4 separate regions of the Homo sapiens genome follow, and regions 1, 3 and 4 are each linked to region 2. The links are contacts of gene promoters, found by promoter capture Hi-C in blood cells and fetal thymus (Javierre and others, 2016). All regions are on one chromosome and are shown on one strand. The core of a region is centred on a gene start or on the middle of the fragment in contact, and the rest is flanking DNA. Distances in the headings are between cores, read along the strand shown.

Region 1 (2,700 bases), core at 128-2,627, 400 kb before region 2:
TCTAGTAGGGATTGGGTATATTTGTGTGTTTTAAAAAACACCCTGCTGCAGCCTATTAAGCCAACTGAGTTCCTTTCCTCATGGGGGGGCCCAGTGTGCAATGGCTGCAAACAGCAGCTTCCTTGGTAGTGTATGCAGCCTGTGTGTTGTATTGTATGGGTTGCTCTAAGGGACCCTGGAGACAGTCCTTTCAGATGGATGTTCATGTTTCTGACCTTGCACTACCCCAGTGTAGGTTCCAAACAGGCATGCGAGGTGCCTTTGGGAAGCCCCAGGGCACTGTGGCCAGGGTTCACACTGGCCAAGTTATCATCTCCATTCACACCAAGCTGCAGAACAAGGAGCATGTGATTGAGGCCCTGCGCAGGGCCAAGTTCAAGTTTTCTGGCCGCCAGAAGATCCACATCTCAAAGAAGTGGGGCTTCACCAAGTTCAATGCCAATGAGTTTGAAGACATGGTGACTGAGAAGCGGCTCATCCCAGATGGCTGTCGGGTCAAGTACATTTCCAATCGTGGCCCTGTGGACAAGTGGCGGGCCCTGCACTCATGAGGGCTTCCACTGTGCTGCCCCCTCTTAATACTCACCAATAAATTCTACTTCCTGTCCACCCAAAACAAACAAACAAACAAACAACAAAAAAAAAACACCCTGGAAAATTCTGATACTACCTTCCCTCTTCCTTAAGACCTTTACCCGAGACCAGAAATATTAGGGGCTGTCTACTAGGACCATTTTATTCATCTTTTTGCCTATAAAATAAATTTCCCCAATTTAATACAGAAAAGGGTGTCTGCTATTCCTCAGATCTCCAGAAATCAGATTATTAATACTTTAAATAAGCTACTCAAATGCCTTAACTTCCACAAGTCACAGATTAAAAATGAGACACTACCTCCAAAGGGATGACTGAGACTGGGGGGAAAGAGGTTATCCAAGATGGTTCTCTATGTCCAAAATTTAAAGATACCATCAAAAACGCCCTATAATATTTGCTGAACAGGTTGCAAAGTAACTACAACCACCACAGAAATATCCCTATTAGTTAGGGAAAATAACTACTTTCACATATTTCAAGCAAATACTATACTACATGCAGTTTATAAGCTGTTGGGTTAGAGGTATAAGAAATTGGAAGTGAGGAACTTTAGTGTTAGTAGATAAATCAAGGTAAGAACTCCAGAACAAAGCATACCCATTTTCATGAATGGAAGAATGCCATAAATATCTTCTCAATATAAATGCTTAAGTGGGGTGGTGCTTTTGCAAACCACCACCCTCCACAAGGATGGGTGAAGCTTTTTTAAAACATGATTTTACAGTCTGTTTCAACACAAGGCCGAATATAGAAATAAACAGAATTAGTGTCTTCCATGAGAGGAGAAACAAATGGCTCAGAAAAATATTTTATTTCATTTTGCTGTTAACCTCATAACCAGGATCAGGTGACAAGCTTAATATGACCACTCCTGAATACACCTGAAACTTTTTTTTTTTTTTTGAGACAGAGTCTCGCTCTATCGCCAGACTGGAGTGCAGCGGCACGATCTTGGCTCACTGCAACATCTGCCTCCTGGATTCAAGCAATTCTCTTGCCTCAGCCTCCCGAGTAGCTAGGACTACAGGTGCGCGCCACCACGCTCGGCTAATTTTTGTATTTTTAGTAGAGACGGGGAGGTTTCACCATGCTGGCCAGGATGGTATCGATCTCTCGACCTCATGATCCACCCGCCTCGGCCTCCCAAAGTGTTGGGATTACAGGCATGAGCCCCACACCCAGCCTCATCTGAAACTTTAAAAAAGAATGCCTTGATTTTAGATTGTGGGTTCGTAATCTGCATGATTATATTATACATTCAAAATGAAACTTAAGGACCAGAATATTCCTAATGGAAAATTCCCCAGTAAACCTGCCAGAAGTTCAGAGGAGAAAAATTAACCAAGTAACAAAACATAGTGGGAGCATAGGTACTTCCTGTAATTTTCTCTAATAATAATTTTAGTATCTCAACCTAAGCATTTATACTACCTGCTTACGCACGCACTGGCTTATGCAGCTAATTGTGTTATAAAGTTGTTTTTGACTAATTTAACAGTTCTTCCTTTTATAATCTACCCTCTTGAGTTTATTCAAAGATCCATTTAATATTCCATAAAATAAAGACCACTCAGAAAAATGAAAGGCACACCACACTTCACTGAAAGACATAAATAATGCTTACATTGGGCTTTCACATATGAATAAACACTTAATTACTTACTTGCATAATTACTAGGCCAGCAAGTACTTAAAGTAGCTCCAAAAAATGCCTATCATGGCAATTCTACAAGTGATAAGACGGTATCCAAAAAACATCACATGCATTATGTGTGCATCGTTGAACATTAGTATATACACCAAACAAATGGATAAAGGCAATGAGAACCAAAGTCTGGGTGGTTAACTAGGCTGTTAGAATAACCAGAGCATCTGAAGAACACATGGAAAGTGGGCAGTCACTTCCTGTAACCAATTCTGAGTTTCTAAGTAGCCTCTTCAGATACTTACTTCAATCCTTGTCACTATCAAATGGTTCCATCGAGGAGCTTTTGTTGTTGTTGTTGTTTGAGACGGAGTCTCACTCTGTCGCCTAGGCTGGAGTGCAGTGGCACGATCTCAGCTCACTGCAAGTTCTGCCTGCCAGGTTCCAGCGATTCTCCT
Region 2 (2,700 bases), core at 10-2,509:
ATCAGTCCAAGCATTTTTCTTATTTTCCCTTTTTCTTCTTGGTTGTTTTTTTTTTGTTTTTTTTTTGTTTTTTTTTTGTTTTTTTGACAGCCCTGCTTGCTTTCATTTGGAATTTAGTCTTGGGTTCTGATGCTTGTTATTGACTGACTAGTTTTGATGACTCTCTTAACTCACAACCAGATTTCTAGTGTTGACTTATCCCTGATACACATTAACTCTATTCATTCTAGGCTTTAGTGACCTATCTCTGCTTCTCAGAATATGACTCTGGGCTGCCCTCTTCTTATATTGGGGCTGCTACCCAGAATGAGCCATATTTACTGTCTAGGAAGAACTGGGACAGAAATGAGGATGGGAGTTTATGGAGAATCCTCCTTGGTGGCTCCCTCATACCTAGCACTGGTTTTTGTGTAGGCAAGTCTTTAATAAAAATGTGTGAATGGAAGAAATTTAAAAAATAAAGCAGTTATGGTAGCACGTCATGATGTGACAAAAGTATTTACTCAATTAATAATGGATGCACTTCTTTAGATGAGGTGCCATGGTAGATGCTGTATTCAAAGGTGAAAATATACGGTCTCTTTCTTCAAGGAATTTGCACTCTCCTGGAAGTTGGGAGTTATAAGGAAAGTCTGAGTGGTAAATTTGGACAGAGATGACAGAGAACTTATTACATTGTGGACCTTAGTCCCAGGTCCAGTTCCAAACATATCTTGAATATGTTAAGGGGAGTTACTGTTTCTGCACTGGAAATGTTCTCGCTGCTATCTGCAGAATAATGGCCTCTGGGGGAAGCTGGGTGAAGGATGTGGCAAGCAATAAACACAAGACCCATTTGAATCGTGAGCAGATTTCCTGGGGCTGCCCATTTCTACCCCCTTGTTAAATTTTTTCTGGGATTCTGGTTAGAAAAGGAGATTTTTCACATGGGGTTTAAAAAATTATGACACAGCCCCCTGGAAATCATCCTGTTTTTATTGGCATGCCTTTTAAAATAATGCAAGCTGCTGTGATAGGCAACTGAAATTCTGAATTCTTTTGGAAATGAGAACGCAATCTTACCAGTAAGGCTGAGCTTTTAAATAATGTCAGTTGATGGTGTGATCAGCGTTTTTTGACTATGAAGCAAGCTCTTAAAAAAATAGAACAACCAAAGTGATCTTCCTCTATATAAACTGTAAATTATCTTTCACAGCACCTCATTGGACTGGTGGCTTTGAGGGCTACATTAAGTAGGTTATCCTCTCATCTAACCGGCATTAGTATCTCTTGGGCTGCTGTGAGTGACACACGCTGAGTGGGGTGAAGGGAAATGCTGGTGAATTTCATTTTGAGGTGTGGGTTGCTGTTAGTCACTCTGTCTCTTGCCATTGCCAAGCACAAGCAATCTTCCTTCACCAAAAGTTGTTACCCAAGGGGAACATTGTCCCAAGCTGTTGACGCTCTCTATATCAAAGCAGCATGGCTCAAAGCAACGATTCCAGTAAGTATTAGGCTCTGCTTAAAATCATGACCTCAAGGACATTTACAATCTTGGATACAACTTATTTCTCTTTGTATTATTGTAGGAAGACCGCATAAAAAATATACGATTATTAAAAAAGAAAACAAAAAAGCAGTTTATGGTAAGTCAGAAAGTCTTCTTCTTTTTTACATTTCCACTTATTTGATGTTTATTTCCCCCTGCATTTAAATTTTTTTCAGAGAGTAATTAAGTAATGATCGGGGGACATTAAAAAACGATTCATAATTTACCATATGCAATTTCTTGTATCTTATTTTTAGAAAAACTGTCAATTTCAAGAACAGCTTCTGTCCTTCTTCATGGAAGACGTTTTTGGTCAACTGCAATTGCAAGGCTGCAAGAAAATACGCTTTGTGGAGGACTTTCATAGCCTTAGGCAGAAATTGAGCCACTGTGTAAGTATACACAACAAATACTGTGCATTTGATCCTAGAAACCTGTTTAGAAGTCAGCATGTAAGAATCTGTCTCACACCAAAGGGTGAGTAAAACGAGCTTTGTAATTGTTGGCTTGTAGTCCAAATGGAGAGGTCATCACCAGGGAAATAGCATTAAATAACTGTACATTACTCAGAATGCTGCTATTTATTATTTCTTAAAGAATGGCTCATAAAACACACTGAAGAGAGCTAAAGTAACATGACATGGTTTTCAAATAAATACTTTAAAATCATTCTCTCATTATGTGATTCCCAAGTAATCCATTCATCCATTTAATATTTCTTGAGTACCAACTTTGTGCCAAACACTATTCTAAGTCTCTCTTTCTCTCCCTTCCTCCCTCTCTCCCTCTCTCCCTTCTTCCCTCCCTCCCTCCCTTCCTTCCCTCTCCCTCCCTCCCTCTCCCCTTTCTCTTCCTCCACCCTCCTTCCCTCCCTCTCTCTTTCTTTCTTTTCCTTCCTTCCTTCTTTCTTTACTTCCTTTTCTTTCTTTCTCTCTCTCTTTCCTTCCTTCCTTCTTTCCCATAACAATAATAACTAACTGATGCCCTTTTTCTTATTTACTTATGTTTTTAAAAAAATATTTGTGCCCCTTTTAAGGCATAATCTCAGTAAAAAACTTAAAAAGGGATAGACATGCCTTCTTTGGTACCTAAATTATTTGATGCCTCAGTATGGTCACTGTCATAGCAAGCAGTGGAGAATTAATTAAGAAGGTAAAAGTGATCACATTTCT
Region 3 (2,700 bases), core at 172-2,671, 420 kb before region 2:
AAAACCCTTTTTTGGGGGGGGGGGGGGGGGCGGGGAGTGGAGTGGGGGGCAGGGACAGGGCTTCACCATGTTGGCCAGGATGGTCTCGATCTCTTGACCTCATGATCCACCTGCCTCGGCCTCCCAAAGTGCTGGGATTACAGGCGTGAGCCACCACACCCGGCTTCAAAACCCTGTTTCTACAAAAAAAGACAAAAATTAGCTGGGTGTGGTGGTACACGCCTGTAATCACAGCTACTCGCAAAGCCGAGGCATGAGAATCGCTTGAACCTGGGAGGTGGAGGTTGCAGTGAGCTGAGATCACACCACTGGAGTCCAGCCTGGGCAACACAGTGAGATTCTGTCTCAAAAAGATTCAATAGGATACAAAATAAAAATTGATTTAAGGAAATTTTCAAAAGTATTCTGGCAAAGACCCAACAGTTAAAGTAAAGAGATGGCCTTTCTTTTTGTATATGGGTTCAGGTCTGAAATAGGAAACCTAAAATGGAAAATTGGTAATCCGAAAAAATCTACAATGGTTGAGATTTTCAGAGTCTTACAAACAAACTAGAAAAAACTAAATAAAAAGGTCTTTGTTTTCGAAGAAATGCAAGCCCACAGATGAGGCTACTTGTACAAACAGAGCCACAGGAGGAACTGATGTTGCATGTTCACTAACAAATGGAAGTACAATAACCCCAAATCTGTTCATTATTGCTGCTCCAAAGGAAATATGAGCATCCAATTCTCCACCCTTCCTCCACTGGGAGTGAGAGTGGGACTGACTACATATAGTCACAGGAAACCTTTTGGGGGTGATGGAAGTGTTCTAAAAACTAGTTGTAGTGGGCCGGGCGCAGTGGCCCACACCTGTAATCCTAGCACTTTGGGAGGCTGAGGCAGGCGGATCACAAGGTCAGGAGTTCAGCCTGGCCAATATGGTGAAACCCCGTTTCTACTAAAAGTACAAAAATTAGCTGGGCATGGTGGTGGGCACATGTAATCCCAGCTACTCGGGAGGCTAAGGCAGGAGAATCGAGTGAACCCGAGAAGTGGAGGTTGCAGTAAGCTGAGATCGTGCCACTGCACTCCAGCCCCGGTGAGACTGCAACACTCCATCTCAAAAAAAAAAACACACCAAAAACTGGTTGTAGTGATGGCTGCATAACTATATATTCACTAAAACCTCCAAACATAACACAACTGACCGAAACAACATAAAAACTACAATTTTAAAATACTGAATATAAAAACTATACATTTATCAGAGGTGATTTTTCTAAGAGACGTATGCCTTTCTTATTTCACAAAGGTGGCTGAGTTGGCTGTGGGAGCTACACTTCTTAGTGAGGTGACTGGGACTCTTTTTCCCAGCTGCTTCATTTATCCATGAATGAGCATTATTATTTGTTGCTAGAATGAGTCAGGTTCATCCATATTATTGTATCTATCAGTAACTTGCTCCTTTTATTTATTACTGTTGATTAAAATATACCACATGAATACATGATATTTTCTTTACCCATTCACACCAGCTGATTTCCAGTTTGGGGATATTATCAGGGTATTTCTGTTACCTTAAACAGCAAAACAAAACAAAAAAAACCCAACAGTACAATAGTCAAGATTTGAATCAGTATTTTTCAAATCTGTGCTTTCTACTACACCAGCCTTGAAAAGACTGAAAAACAGATTTTTATTGCGAATGCCAACTCTGACTGACTGGCAACAGCCATTATCCTGTTTTTAGGATGGTGTGGTTGCATCTAGTTTTGCAGAAAAGACAACTCTGTTCAATAAGCAACATAATTGGCTTGTGGTGCTGGTAGGGACTGGGAAAGAGCTGTAGCACCTGTTATTTGTATAGCGTATTTGTGATCTTTAGGCATAACCTTTCTGTTCAAGTGTTCTTTTCCTGAAGTCCTTAGCTCAGGTTAAGAATGAGCACTTTGAAATATGTCAATTCCCTAAAATTTCATGCACAATTAAAAATGGGAATAGTTACATCAGATTTTCAAAGACATTTGTGACAACTACTATTTGAGACATTGAGACTAATTGTTCTCTTTCACAGAACCCCATGGGGGGACAATTTTGACAGCACAGCATAGTGGCTAATGGTACCTAAGTTTCAAATTGTGGTTTTCTATAATCTTGGGCAAGTCACGAAACCTTTCAGAGCCTCACTTTCCTTCCAGGTAAAATTAAGATAGTAACAGCTACATGATAAGGTTGTGAGATGGATTACAAAGAATGTAAACTCCATGAGGATAGGGATTTTTTTTGTTTTACTCACTGCCATATTCCCAGAACCTGAAACTGTGCCTGAAATATGTGATCAATAAATTAAAGAAAGAATAAGGAAAGAAATGTAGTAATTCTTCAGAGTCACTGACACAACACCTTGCACATACTCGTCAACAAAAGATAAATTTCAGGCCAGGCGTGGTGGCTCACGCCTGTAATCCCAGCACTTTGGGAGGCCGAGGCGGTTGGATCACTGGACCAGCTGGACCAGGCTGGTCAGAAGTTCAAGACCAGCCTGGCCAACATGGCAAAGCCTCTACTAAAAATACAAAATTAGCCGGGTGTGGTGGCACATGCCTGTAATCCTACTTACTCGGAAGGCTGAGGCAGGAGAACTGCTTGAACCCAGGAGGTGGAGGTTGCAGTGAGCCCAGATCGCACCACTGCACTCCAGCCTGGGCGACACAGCAA
Region 4 (2,700 bases), core at 103-2,602, 500 kb before region 2:
ATTCTGGTCTATTTTATCACTTACTACTATAAAATATATATGAATCTATTATAAAAAGTTAAAATTTATCAAAACGTACACACATTTACAGACCATACATTGTGGTCTAGAGAAATGTAAACAAGCATACAGATGCAGTATTAAATCATAACTGCATACAACTAACTGTAGTAGATACTATACTACTGTAATAACTTTAGAGCCACTTCCTGCCACTACTGGGGTGAGCTCAAGTGCTGTGAGTATCCATTTAAAATGCCGTGTGATGCTAATCATCTCTGAAGAGCTGTTGGTCTCTTCAGTTGCATACTGCAATAAAAAGTAAGCTTTCCCAGGTCTTGTTTTTTTTAGTGCAATACTATAAACCCTTAATAACACCACAGGAGCCATACAAAGTGCCAGTAGTGATACTGGAAGTTCTCCCAAGAAGCAGAGAAAAGTCATGAGATTACAAGAAAAAGGTGAATTGCTTGATATACTGTAGATTGAGGTCTGTAACTGTGGTTGTCCATTTCAAATAGACAATTCATCTTGTAAACAGACAACATAAACTTACAGTATTAACAGGTACAGTATAGTACTATAAACGTAGTTTCTCTTCCTTATGATTTTTATTATTTATTCTTTTTTTAACTTTTAAAAGTTATTTATTAATTTTTAAACTTAAAAAAAAAAAAAAAGACAGGTCCAGGCCGGGTGTCGTGGTTCACGCCTGTAATCCCAGCTCTTTGGGAGACTGAGGGGGGTGGATCATGAGGTCAGGCGTTAAAGATCAGCCTGGCCAACATAGCAAAACCCCATCTCTACTAAAAATACAGACAATTAGCCAGCACCTTTAATCCCAGCTACTCGGGAGGCTGAGGCAGGAGAACCGCTTGAACCTGGGAGGCGGAGGCTGCAGTAAGCCGAGATGGTGCCACTGCACTCCAGCCCGGGTGACAGCGCAAGACTCCGTCTCAAAAAAAAAAAAAAAAAAAAGACAGGTTTTCGCTGTTTCCCAGGCTAGTCTTGAACTCCTGGGCTCAAGCGATCCACCCACCTCTGTTTCCCAAAGTGCTGGGATTACAGGCGCAAGCCACCACGTCTGGCCTGATTGTTTTTTTTTTTTTTTTTTGAGATGGTCTCACTCTGTCACCCAGCTGGAGGGCAGTGGCGAGATCACAGCTCACTGCAACCTCCAACTCCTGGGCTCACTCGATCTTCCTGCCTCAGCCTCCCGAGTAGCTGGGTTTACAGATATGAACCACTGTGCCCTGCTAATTTAAAAAAATTTTTTGTAGTAGAGAGAAGGGTCTCCCTATGTTGCCCAGGCTGATCTCAAACGTCTGGACTCAAGCAGTCCTCTCGCCTCTGCCTCCCAAAGTGTTGGGATTACCGGTATGAGCCACCTCGCCGAGCCCCTTATGATTTTCTTAGTAATGTTTTCTTTTCTCTAACTTACATTATCATAAGAATACAGTACAGTTGAGCTTTGAACAACACGGGATTGAACTGTGCAGGTCCACTTCTGCATAAATTTTTTTCAACTCAACTTAGAAAATACAGTGTTATCTGGATGTGAAATCTGCAAATATGGAAGGCCAATTTTTCGTATATGCAGGTTCTGCAGGGCCAACTGTGGGACATGAGTATACACAGATTTTGTTATATGTGGGGGTCCTGGAGCCAATCCCCCAAGTATACTGAGGGATGACTGCATATGATACATGTAATATACAAAATGTGTTAATTGTGTGTTTATGTTATTGGTATGATTTCTGGTCAGCAGTAGGGTATCAGTAGTTAGGTTTTTGGGGAGTCAAAAGTTATAGTGAATTTTTGATTGTGCGGGGCGGTGGGGGTTGTTTTCCTAATCCCTGCATTATTCAAAGGTCAACTGTGCTGATAATTAAAAGATCTCTTATGGATTCTGATGCTTTCTTACCACTGAGAATTAAAATAGCATCATTCTGAGTTTTGTTTTCATTAAAATAGTAAAAAACAATCAGGTTGTAGGTTCTCAAAGTTTACCTGTATGTATGTCTTTAAAACTTCAATAGAAACTTCCTCCTTCATAGGAAAAAAAGACATAATTATAAATACACTGCTTATATGAAAGTAACAAAATTTTTGATACAAATTCCATTATTAAATAATTTAATAATTGTAATGTTTACCACTGAGCAGTAACTATACACCAAGCTAAGTGCTTACCAAAGTTCATCTACTGCCTGATTTAACCTTACCATAACTCTTTTTGGGTAGTTACTATTATTGTTCACATTTTACAGAGGATGAAATTAGGACCAAGGGAAGTTTTATTTACCCAGAGTTACACAGATAGAAGCTGCTGAATAAGGGTATATACTCAGGACTCCTACTCCAAAGCCCAAGCTTTCAACTACTGTATCATTCACTTTCTACATGCACTCTGACCAAAATGTTATCTTCTTTTTTAGAAAAAAAGCAACAAAACAACAACCAACAAAGTTTTAAAATCTCACATAGCACTCACTTTGTTTAGTTAGCTTAGCTGGTTGATTTAAAGCTGGGTACAGACAAGGATAAAGTTATGAATTTATTAAAAACCAGTTAACCAACAGCATTCTGTGGCCACAGACTAGAACCCTAAAGGGCCACTCTCAGTGAGTTATCATTGAGTGACTATACAAGACTATATGGAAGACTTTTGATTCCTTATCACCATTTCTAGAAAACAAT

What was found. Contacts are between HindIII fragments. The CHiCAGO score rates a contact against its expected background, and 5 or more counts as called.
Region 1: a contact is called between a fragment that was not itself captured here and the fragment with the promoter of IL26 in region 2, in 2 of 17 cell types (M1 macrophages and erythroblasts). The highest score is 5.8, in M1 macrophages.
Region 3: a contact is called between a fragment that was not itself captured here and the fragment with the promoter of IL26 in region 2, in 1 of 17 cell types (M1 macrophages). The highest score is 5.1, in M1 macrophages.
Region 4: a fragment that was not itself captured here is called in contact with the fragment with the promoter of IL26 in region 2 in 3 of 17 cell types (erythroblasts, M1 macrophages and megakaryocytes); the score reaches 7.0 in erythroblasts.

What each region holds. Positions count from the first base shown.
Region 1 is chr12:68,624,721-68,627,420 of GRCh38, reverse strand. All of the region lies in intron 1 of RAP1B (RAP1B, member of RAS oncogene family), which reads right to left. It overlaps SNORA70G (small nucleolar RNA, H/ACA box 70G), which reads left to right and starts at 46; the gene lies at 46-187. It also overlaps the pseudogene RPL10P12. The HindIII fragment of the contact is 155 bases long and covers 1,300-1,454 here.
Region 2 is chr12:68,224,369-68,227,068 of GRCh38, reverse strand. IL26 (interleukin 26) reads left to right here and starts at 1,259. Exons shown (of 5, transcript NM_018402.2): 1 at 1,259-1,483; 2 at 1,569-1,625; 3 at 1,786-1,920. The coding sequence starts at 1,313. The HindIII fragment of the contact is 7,284 bases long and covers 1-2,700 here.
Region 3 is chr12:68,644,718-68,647,417 of GRCh38, reverse strand. The region is part of intron 1 of RAP1B (RAP1B, member of RAS oncogene family); the gene reads right to left. Among named protein-coding and RNA genes, the nearest start is that of SNORA70G, 19 kb to the right of the region's middle. The HindIII fragment of the contact is 5,436 bases long and covers 1-2,700 here.
Region 4 is chr12:68,726,700-68,729,399 of GRCh38, reverse strand. NUP107 (nucleoporin 107) reads right to left here. Exons shown (of 28, transcript NM_020401.4): 20 at 2,011-2,049. Among named protein-coding and RNA genes, the nearest start is that of SLC35E3, 18 kb to the left of the region's middle. The HindIII fragment of the contact is 2,047 bases long and covers 329-2,375 here.